Regions from separate parts of the Homo sapiens genome. Here regions 1 and 2 are each linked to region 3. Evidence: promoter capture Hi-C in 16 types of primary human blood cells and fetal thymus (Javierre and others, 2016). All regions are on one chromosome and are shown on one strand. Each heading gives the region's core, a stretch centred on a gene start or on the middle of the fragment in contact. The rest is flanking DNA. Distances are from core to core; before and after follow the strand shown. Region 1 overlaps CRTC3-AS1 (CRTC3 antisense RNA 1). Region 2 has its middle 4.4 kb from the start of IQGAP1. Region 3 holds the start of CRTC3 (CREB regulated transcription coactivator 3).

Evidence for each region. Contacts are between HindIII fragments. The CHiCAGO score rates a contact against its expected background, and 5 or more counts as called.
Region 1: a fragment that was not itself captured here is called in contact with the fragment with the promoter of CRTC3 in region 3 in 2 of 17 cell types (activated CD4 T cells and naive CD4 T cells); the score reaches 6.7 in activated CD4 T cells.
Region 2: a fragment that was not itself captured here is called in contact with the fragment with the promoter of CRTC3 in region 3 in 3 of 17 cell types (total B cells, activated CD4 T cells and naive CD4 T cells); the score reaches 6.2 in total B cells.

Annotation. Positions count from the first base shown.
Region 1 is chr15:90,664,041-90,667,533 of GRCh38, forward strand. The region is part of intron 2 of CRTC3-AS1 (CRTC3 antisense RNA 1); the gene reads right to left. LINC01585 (long intergenic non-protein coding RNA 1585) reads left to right here. Exons shown (of 3, transcript NR_120371.1): 3 at 315-914. Among named protein-coding and RNA genes, the nearest start is that of LINC01585, 5.6 kb to the left of the region's middle. RefSeq lists enhancers at 718-767, 808-1,067 and a silencer at 1,248-1,627. The HindIII fragment of the contact is 7,376 bases long and covers 1-3,493 here.
Region 2 is chr15:90,382,053-90,385,571 of GRCh38, forward strand. No RefSeq gene overlaps it. Among named protein-coding and RNA genes, the nearest start is that of IQGAP1, 4.4 kb to the right of the region's middle. The HindIII fragment of the contact is 1,603 bases long and covers 603-2,205 here.
Region 3 is chr15:90,528,202-90,531,394 of GRCh38, forward strand. It overlaps CRTC3 (CREB regulated transcription coactivator 3), which reads left to right and starts at 1,722. Exons shown (of 15, transcript NM_022769.5): 1 at 1,722-2,002. The coding sequence starts at 1,871. RefSeq lists silencers at 1,176-1,225, 1,326-2,075, 2,096-2,275 and an enhancer at 2,666-2,825. The HindIII fragment of the contact is 15,096 bases long and covers 1-3,193 here.

The DNA of each region.
Region 1 (3,493 bases), core at 888-3,387, 140 kb after region 3:
GCGTGGTGGCTCACACCTGTAATCCCAGCACTTTGGGAGGCCGAGGCGTGTGGATCACCTGAGGTCGGGAGTTCAAGACCAGCCTGGCCAACATAGTGAAACCCAGTCTCTACTAAAAATACAAAAATTAGCTGGGTGTGGTGGCGCATGCCTGTAATCTCACCTACTCGGGAGGCTGAGGCACAAGAATTACTTGAATCCGGGAGTGAGAGGTTGAAGGGAGCCAAGATGGCCACTCCAGCCTGGGCAACAAGAGTGAAACTCCGTCTCAAAAATAAATAAATAAATAAAGACTTCTCCCAAATTTCATGCAGAAAAAATTCAAACTTAGATGATTTCCGAAGATCTTAATAATCAGGACAACCGTGAACTTCTCATGCAACCGTCAATGCCTGAGACAATGGAGTGAAAGCTACCAGATCCTTAAGAGAAAAGTGTCCCCCAGGACTCTTAAAGCCACCAGCCCTGATGTTGGCCACGGGAAAAGACAATCAAGGAAAATCTCCGACCTTCGGTGAAATGCAGAGACTAAGGGACCCCTGTGCTGCGTGTGATGCGATTTTGAGAGAAAAAAAAAAAAAAAGGCCAGGTGTGGTGGCTCACGCCTGTAATCCCAGCACTTTGGGAGGCCCAGACAGGAGGATCCCTTGAGCTCAGGAGTTAGAGACCATTCTGGGCAACATGGCAAAACCCTGTCTCTACAAAACAAAACAAAACAATACAAAACAAAACAAACAGAAAAATAGCCAGGTGTGGTGGCACGTGCCTGTGGTCCCAGCTACCCTGGAGGCCTAGGCGGGGAGATCGCTTGAGCCTGGGAGGTCGAGGCTTCAGCGAACCAAGATCACGCCACTGCACTCCAGCCTGGGCCACAGAGCAAGATTGTCTTAAAAATAAAACAAAACAAAAACTAACGGAGCCCTGAAAAGGGAGCGCAATTCATCAATCCGCTGACGGTGATGGGCCCCCTGGCCCGGTGCAGCGGACCCTTAGGTCCTGGTGGGGGAGTCGGTCAGTCAATGCATGGGTGAGCAAATGAGTGAAGCAACGCGAGCACAGCGCTGGCCCGGATCTAACTTGGCGGTGACAGCCCAGCCCCGAGCTGGACATGGCAGGCCCCTCGGCCTGGCCGTTGCCTGAGAACCCTAGGATCACAGCGTTGGGCCGGAGTGGGACAGGGCCGGGTAGCGTCCCCCGACAGAGCTGGGTCAGGGCCTTGTTGTGGCCGGGGGCAGGCCCGGCAGCTGAAAGCGTAAGACCCCCGGAGCCCGGCACAGCGCTCCTCACCACCGGGAAAGGCGGCTGGGCCTGACCGGGCTCCCGCATCCCCCCACCCCGGAGCGTGCAGCCGCCCCAAACCCCCAGCGGCCTCCGGCTTCCAGGTGAGCAGCACCGGAAGGGAGCGGCGCCGCGTCCTCACCGCCGCGGGGGGGGCTCCCCAGCCGCGTCCCCGCCGCTTCACGCCCTCCGCGTGGAAGGACGGGGGCCCGGGGACCCCTGCAAACGGCTGAGACCCCAAAGCCCGGCTCCTCTGCCCGGCTGTCCCTCCCCGGAGCTCCGGCCGCACGGCCGCTTCCGGCACCGAGGACGCCCCGGGCTCCAGCGTTCAGCCTGCGTTTCTGGACACCCGGGATGCGCAGGGGGTTGGACAGGACCGCCCCAAACCTGCGTCGTGGGGCTTCGCCCTCCTGAGATCACCCAGGCAGCCTGTGCGCGGCCCCACCACAGCGCCTGAGGCGGCACCGCCTGAGCGCGTTCAGAAAGTAGGCAGTACTTTTATTTTTATTCTTATTCTGAGACAGGGTCTCGCTTTGTCGCCCAGGCTGGAGTGCAGTGGAGCGATCTCGGCTCACCACAGCCTCGAACTTCCGGGCTGAAGCCATCCTTCCGAGTAGGTGGGACTACGGGCGCACGCCACCACGCCCGGCTAATTTTTAAACTTTTTGTAAAGATGGGGTCTCACTACGTTGCTCAGGCTGGTCTTGAGCTCCTGAGCTCAAGCGATCCTCCCGCCTTGGCCTCCCAAAGTGATGAGATTACAGGCGTGAGCCACTGTGCGCGGCTGGTAGTACTTTTTGTACCTTGGGGACAAAAATAAAAACCCAGGCACTTAAGTGGCACTCCTACAGCAGCAGTGACTTAATAACTGGAGATAGAAAAATAAAAAAAAATAAAAAAAAATACTGGTGTCTGAACAAAGAGACATACTTAGAAAATTGTGTTATACTGACTGACATGCCTAATTCCCATCCCTTGTGGGGCGTGGGGGGCGGAGCACTTACTCCTCACCCCCGAAACCCCTCAAAATGATAAAAATAAGTGAGCAAAACAGACCCAAAACAGCAGCCCTAGCTCCCATCATTCCCAAGCAGTTTGCTGACTGACTCACCTGGCATTTCGTGGATGCAAAGAAGAGCCCCTTCCACCAGGTGAAGAAGAAAAGGGGGTCTGGGCACTATGGCTCATGCCTGTTATCCCAGCACTTTCGGAGGCTGAGGTAGACGAATCACTTAAGGTCAGGAGTTCAAGACCAGCCCGGCCAACATGGTGAAACCCCGTCTTAACTAAAAACACAAAAAAATTTGCCGGGCATGGTGGCACCTGAGGCAGAAGAATTGCTTGAACCTGGGAGGCGGAGGTTGCAGTGAGCCGAGATGGTGCCACTGCACTCCAGACTGGGCAACAGAGTGAGACCCTGTCTAGAAAAAAAAAAAGGAGACGAGGAAGGAGAAGAAACACGTGGTTTTAGGGGGGTTTATCTGAGGGTGGCCAGGCAGCTCCTGGGAATCTGCGCTGAGGAGCAGCCAGGCCTGGGGGCAGGGATGTCCAGGGGGAGCCAAAGCAGGCCCAGCTTGCCTTCCTTTCTGTCTGCGCCTCTGTTGCTCGGTGGCATCTTTTTTCGACTGTGTCCCTGTTTCTGTCTTTCCATCTTGCCATCACTTGAATCCTGTTTGACTCTGTCTCCAACTGTCCCTGCCTCAGGACAGAAATCTCTTCTCCCTGTTTCCCCAGCTCACCTACTTTTCCCCTCTCCCCGCTGTGCAGAGCTGCTCCCTCACCTCTGCTGAAACACGTGGGTCTTTCCATGATCCAAACAAGTTTGGTGATTACACTAACTGACCCTGTCTCTGGATGTCCCCATCCAGATCCCCAGGGCAGACTGAGCAATGGGCTCAGTCTCTGGGGCACTTCCCCACGGGGCAGCTGCCCCCTCTGCCCTGTGGTTGTGTGAGCACGTGGGGTTGGAATGGGGACACAGTCCACTCTTGGGAGTGGCAGTGAGTGTGAGAGTTCTCAGCTAAAGGGCAAAACCTGGGGACACACCTCAAAAAAAAGGCTTCTATTTAGGGCAGTGAAACTACTCTGTATGATACATCCATACTCTGTATGGATGCATGTCATTGTACATTTGTCCAAACCCACAGCATGTTCAACAGCAGAGTGAACCCTAATGTACGCTGTGGACTCTGGGCAATGATGATGTGTAGGTTCA
Region 2 (3,519 bases), core at 154-2,653, 150 kb before region 3:
ACTGCCTGGAGAAGCCACTGTTAATATATTGGTGTATATACTTCAAGGCTTTATCTATTCATATGCACATATCCATCAATGTATCTATCTATCTAGCTACATTTAAAACAAAATGGTATCATATTTATTAGTCATAATTTGATATATTAACTTAACCACAATATTAAAATATTGTACTGCCAGCCTGTACATTTTTTGCCTGCCCAGCCTCCCACTGAAGGAAATTATGCCCAGCTCATAGTTCTCTATGCTTAATTATCTGTATCTCCTGATCATAGTTGATTGAAGTAAAGGATCAGCATCCAATCTAAGGGCAGCCTGCCTGTGGGTGGTCAGAGATTTACCCACAGGGTGGAAAGCTGAGCTGGGTCAATCATATGCCACTCTATGGGTTATGGAGTTAGGCAATTGAGATGATCCTCAATGGAGCTGATGATGTAAGGATACCATGACCTTCAGTCAAAGCCATGGCAAGGCAAGCAGAAACAAGAGTTGTGAGGGAACAGAAAAAATTAAATGGAGTAAGCTGGTTAGCAAAGAGTGGAGAGTAGAGCCAGCCTGTGGAAAAGCAGAGATGCCCAGAGAATGAAACCATGACTTCAAGCTTTCATTAGTCCTGTTTTTTTTTGTTTAGTGTAGTTTTGTTTTTGGTGCAGTTCCAGTCCATATAGGTCTGTATAAGAAAGGCCTCCCTTCCAGCCTTTTTTCCTCTAGAAGTAAAACTGTGCATGTCTGTTTCCTGTAGCCAGTCAAGCCTGACCAGACCACAGATCATCACTGTTCATGGCTATATGGCATTCTATTGTGTATAGCTGCCATCACTGATTTAAACACCTACTGATGGACATTTGAGTAATTTCCAAGGAGCATCTTCATGGATAACTTTTGCACATTTAATAAAAGCACGATATCCTTATGATACATTCCAAGAAGTGAAGTTTTTTGGTTGAAGAATAGATGCATAATGATAAGCTGGTCTTTAGAAAGACTATATTAATTTATTGCCTACTAACATTGCATAAGAGTGGTTGCTTTTTCACCCCCTTGCCAATAATATCAATTAAAAAGACAAACCAAAATGTTGCTACATATGATAGGCAAGAAGTGATATGTGGCATGTTATCTTTTCTATTTTTTTTTTTTTTGGTGATGGGTCTCACTCTGTCTACCTGGGCAGGAGCACAGTGGCGGGATCACAGCTCACTGCAGCCTCAACTCCCAGGCTCAAGCGATCCTCCCACCTCAGCCTTTTGGGTAGCATGCCACCACGCTGGGCTAATTTTTTGTATTTTCTGTAGAGACGGGGTTTTTCATTTTGCCCAGGCTGGTCTTGAACTCCTGGCCTCAAGCAATCCTCTCTCCTCTGCTTCCCAAAGTGCTGGGGGGTATAGGTGTGAGCCGTTGTGCCTGGCCAGCATGTTATTATCTTAATGTCTATTTCTCTGAATCTTGAGTTTATTGACTAGGAATTGGGCTTTGTCATTAGACAGGCCTGGGTTTGAGTTCCAGCTCTGCCTCTTGCTGTGTGGCTTCAGGTAAGTAACCCAGTTCTCCATTTTCCCAAGTGTAAAATGGACATAATGGGATTATTACAAGGATCAGCTGAGAAAATAAATGTGCAACACTTAGTATAGTAAGGTACCAGTGCAGTTGGTAACTTAACATCTCTGTGGCTTTCACCTCAGACAAACTTTGTAATTAAGTAAAGAAAGCCTTTATGGAATGAACAATTGGATTAATATGTTGGAGTTAAGAAGAAATATTTCGGCTGGGCATGGTGGCTCATGCCTATAACCCCAGCACATTGGGAGGCCAAGGTGGGCAGATCACTTGAGGTCAAGAGTTCGAGACCAGCCTGGCCAACATGGCAAAACCTCACCTCCAGTAAAAATACAAAAATTAGCCGGGTGTGGTCGTGTGCGCCTGTAAGCCCAGCTACTCAGGAGGCTGAGGCAGGATAATCACTTGAACTTGGGAGGCTGAGGTTGCAGTGAGCCGAAATCACGCCACTGCACTCCAGCCTGGGTGACAGAGTGAAACTCTGTCTCAAAAAAAAAAAAAAAAAAAGAAGAAGAAGAAGAAATATTTCACATTTTATGTATTCGCAATGTTTAAGAAAATTTGGCCGACTTGAATGACAGCTTTTTTGTAAATCATTTTAAATGTGTAATTGAGTTAGTTTTAGACTTAGGTTTTTGAGTTGAAAGCTTACTAAGTTTACACATGGAATCAGGCCATCTAAGAGAATGTTAGCTTTGTTATGCTTGTATGTTTATTTATAGGAATTACTAAGTTTTGAAAAAGTTTTAAACAATTGAATGAATTAAAAAGAAAATCTAGGCCGGGCACAGTGGTTCACGCCTGTAATCCAAGCAGTTTGGGAGGCAGAGGTGGGTGGATCACCTGAGGTCAGGAGTTCAAGACCAGCCTGGGCAACATGGTGAAATCCCGTCTCTACTAAAAATACAAAAATTAGCTGGGCGCGGTGGTGCGTGCCTGTAATCCCAGCTACTCAGGAGGCTGAGGCAGGAGAATCGCTTGAGCCCAGGAGGCAGAGGTTGCAATGAGCCAAGATTGTGCCATTACACTCCAGCCTGTGCGACAGAGTGAGACTCCGTCTCAAAAAAAAAAAAAAGTTTTGAAAAAGTTTTATACGATTGAATGAACTAAAAAGAAAATCTAGGCCAGGTGCGGTGGCTCATGCCTGTAATCTTAGCACTTTGGGAGGCCGAGGCCAGTGGATCACAAGGTCAGGAGTTTGAGACCAGCCTGGCCAATATAGTGAAACCCCATCTCTAATAAAAAAATATATATATATATAAAATTAGCCAGGTGTGGTGGCGGGTGCCTGTAATTCCAGCCACTTGGGAGGCTGAGGCAGAAGAATCCCTTGAACCCGGGAGGCGGAGGTTGCAGTGAGCTGAGATTGCACCATTGCACTCCAGCCTGGGTGACAAGAGTGAAACTCCATCTCAAAAGAAAAAAAAAAAGAAAATGTAATAGGAAATCTAATATAGACAATATAATAGGCACAATTTATTCTTTATTATTATTTTTTATTTTTATTTATTTATTTTTTTGAGATGGAGTCTCGCTCTATTGCCTAGGCTAGAGTGCAGAGGCATGATCTTGGCTCACTGCAAGCTCCGCCTCCAGGGTTCACGCCATTCTCCTGCCTCAGCCTCCCGAGTAGCTGGAATACAGGTGCCCGCCACCATGCCCGGCTAATTTTTTTTTTTTTTGTGTTTTTAATAGAGCTGGGGTTTCACCGTGTTAGCCTGGATGGTCTCAATATCCTGACCTCGTGATTCGCCCACCTCGGCCTCCGAAAGTGCTAGGATTACAGGCGTGAGCCACCGTGCCCGGCAATTATTATTATTTTTTAAAAGACAGTCTCGCTCCGTCAACCAGGCTGGATTGCAGGAGCACAATCTCGGCTCACTGCAACCTCTGCCTCCTGGGTTCAAGTGATTCTCCTGCCTTAGCCTCCCGAGTAGCTGGGACTACAGGCGTGTGTCA
Region 3 (3,193 bases), core at 472-2,971:
AGACTCCGTCTCAAAAACAAACCAACAACAAAAAAAAAGCATGGTAAATAACACAAAATACAACAGAAAAAAAAATCCAATTATAATTAATAAAAATAGCTAAATTCTAGCTAACAGAGATATATTTTCAGAATACATTTTCTAAAAAGTCCAGTTATAGGCTATGTCTGAGAGACAGGTGAAAAACATAATGGAATATTATCATATAAATGAATTGACACAAATATATCTCGAAAACATAATGGAGAATGAAAAAAGATGCAAAATGATTATTCAGTATGGTGTCATTTTTGTAAAGTTTAAAAACAAAATTAGGTATTCCATATAGCATTGCTGGATCTCTACATCATATGTAATAAAAGTATAAAAACACAAACTGGAATGATATGTACCAACTTGAGCACGGTGACTATCTGTGGGGCGGAAGAAGAAATGAGAGTGGGGCCGTCGTTATGACTAATTTTGTATGTCTTTAATAAATCCCAAGTACATGCAGCAAAATGTATTGATGTCTGTTTAATCTTGATAGTGGGGGGCGTGGGTAGTATTAATATTATTTTCCGTACTCTTCCGTAGGCCTCTAATATTTCCCTCTTTACAGAACACTGACACACGCTCAGGGCTCCCCGGGACATCTTTGTGCACATCAACATTTATGCTGAGAGTAGCTTCTGGACTCCAAAGAGGAAACTCCCCGGGCACTGTGGCCCACGCCTGTTATCCCAGCACTTTGGGAGGCTGAGGTGGGCAGATCGCTTGAGCCCAGGCGTTCGAGACCAGCCTGGGCAAAATAGCGAGACCCACCCCCGCCCCCCATTGCTACAAAAACATTTACAAACTAGCCGGGCGTGGTGACCCCCGCCTGTGGTCCCAGCTGGTCGGGAGGCTGAGGTGGGAGGATCTTTTGAGCCCGGGAGGTCAAGGCCGCGGTGAGTCGAGATCGCACCACTACACTCCAGACCGGGCGACAGAGAAAGACATCCATTCACTCCCCCAAAAGAAGGGGAAATTCGCTGAGGCTGAGCGCTGGTTTCCCAAGGTGGGGCTGGCACCTGCTGAAGCTGCCACAGGAGTGGAGAGGCCGTAGGGAGACTTGGAAAGAACCTGGAAAGGGGGCCGGGGCTATGGAGCCAAGGCTGCAGCAGGGCTGGATGGTGTTTGTAGTTTGTGCAGAATAGGAGGCAGTTTTTAAAGCCGAGATACAGCTCTGGTTGACTGGAGCGGGGAGGGGTGGGTGTGAGAGGTCAGGAAACCAGCGGCTGGAGGCCGGGGGCCTGGAGCGGCAGGGCTGGCGGGCAGACGTTAGGCCCCAGGCAAAATGGGCGCACCCCCTGCGGGGGCCCGAGGTGACCTGCTCGAGGTCCGGTCGCCCAGGTTCCACCTGGAGAAGAAAATCTTCGTAATTTGGCTGGGGGAGGGGGGATGCGGGCACAGGCTGTGTTCTCCACGTCGCGTAGACGCAGAGGCCATCCCTGGGTCGGAGAGTCTCCGTGGAGTGGCACCCCAGCGTTCCCCGTACGCCGGGGCCACTTTGTCGGGCTGACGGGGGTCCCTCCAGGTGGCCGCCGGCGGCGGGTCCCGAGCCAGACCGGGAAGCGGGGAGCAGCCCTCAGCCCGCGAGCGTGGGGCCGGGGCAGACTGGAGGCCGGGCGGGCCCCGCCGAGGGTGGGGCGGGGCCGGGCGCACGGGGGCGGACCTCGGCGCGCTCCCGGCCGCTCGCTGGCTCCGGGGCCGCGGCGGCTCCTCTGCCGGGTCGCGCCGGACGACTGGCTTCGGGCGGCGGCCCCGGCGGCCTGTGGACGGACGGGTGGGCCGAGGTACAGGCCCCACGGCCGCCGTCTCCCGCTTCTGCCCGCGCAGAGTCCGCGCCATGGCCGCCTCGCCGGGCTCGGGCAGCGCCAACCCGCGGAAGTTCAGTGAGAAGATCGCGCTGCACACGCAGAGACAGGCCGAGGAGACGCGGGCCTTCGAGCAGCTCATGACCGACCTCACCCTGTCGCGGGTGAGGGCCCGGGCCGGCGCGGGCGGGGGCGGCCACGGCCGCGGGCGGGACCCGCGCGGCGGGTGAGAGGTTGCGGGGCCAAGGCGATGGCGGGGCCGGGCGGGGGCCGCGCCCGGGAACCGGCGGCTGGGAGGGGGACCGGAGCGGCCGCGGCCTCGGCGTTTCCCCGCCTGGCGACACCCGCTAGCCGTTCGCGATCCCGGGCTGAGGTGGGAGGGTCGCCCGGCCCCGTGTGCGGGAAGATGGGCAGGGGTGAAGCCCGTGGAGGCGGGCGGCCGTGCGAGGGCGGCCTGAGGGGGAGGAGGACGAGGAGCCCCGAGAGGAAATCGCAAACAGCTCGGAGGCCGGCCGGGTGGCGCGGCGCGGCTTCTGGTCGCTCCGAACATCCCCCACCATCGAGCCCTGCTGTTCTGCCGGCGTGGAAGGCCGCGGGCACCCCAGGGTCCCACGCGCTCGTGGGGGGAGCTCTGTGCACAAGTCCATCCAGGGCCCGGCCCTGGGGTGGCTCGGGTTGTTGGAACCACGACGGGATTCCGTGTCGAGTGTGAGGCTCTGCTCCTTTTACTCCTTGGAGGTGCTTTATCGGGTCCAGTTTACTTTGTTCGGCCCGGGATATTTAGTGAGAACTGACAAGCGTCGCTGGTGACTGGAGAGGGACCTGGAGGAATGAGTAAGGCGCGAGCCGGGACAAACACCTGGAGAGGTTAGGTAACCGCTGAGTGAGGCAGTGGAGGATGGAGAGCCAACCGGAGTGTCCGCGCAGGGTTGCAGAGAAGGGGGGTCAGCAGGAGTGGGGCTGGCCTTGAGGATCCTGAATGCTGACCTTGGAGGACCATCGGGAGGATGGGGGAGGATCTGCAGATTCTGGGGGACTGAGGCGGGGGAGACAGTTTGAAGGAGAGCTGAGAGCAGAGTTGCAAACCAGCTGAGTTGCAGACACATTATTTTTTGGCCAGCGCAGTGTTTGGGAAAAATTATTGAATCTGTTGCCAGAATTTTTAAATTGGAAGACTTCCACACAAAATCCAAATTTCCGTATTATTTATTTATTATTATTTATATATGTTAAAAATTGGGAGACCTGGTAACACTAATTCTGAATTCCTACATGACAGCTACCGACCTGCTGGAGCTGGGTGATGATGAAAGGGAGCTGAGCTGAGCTCCCTTTCAAATGGAGTAAGAACTCTA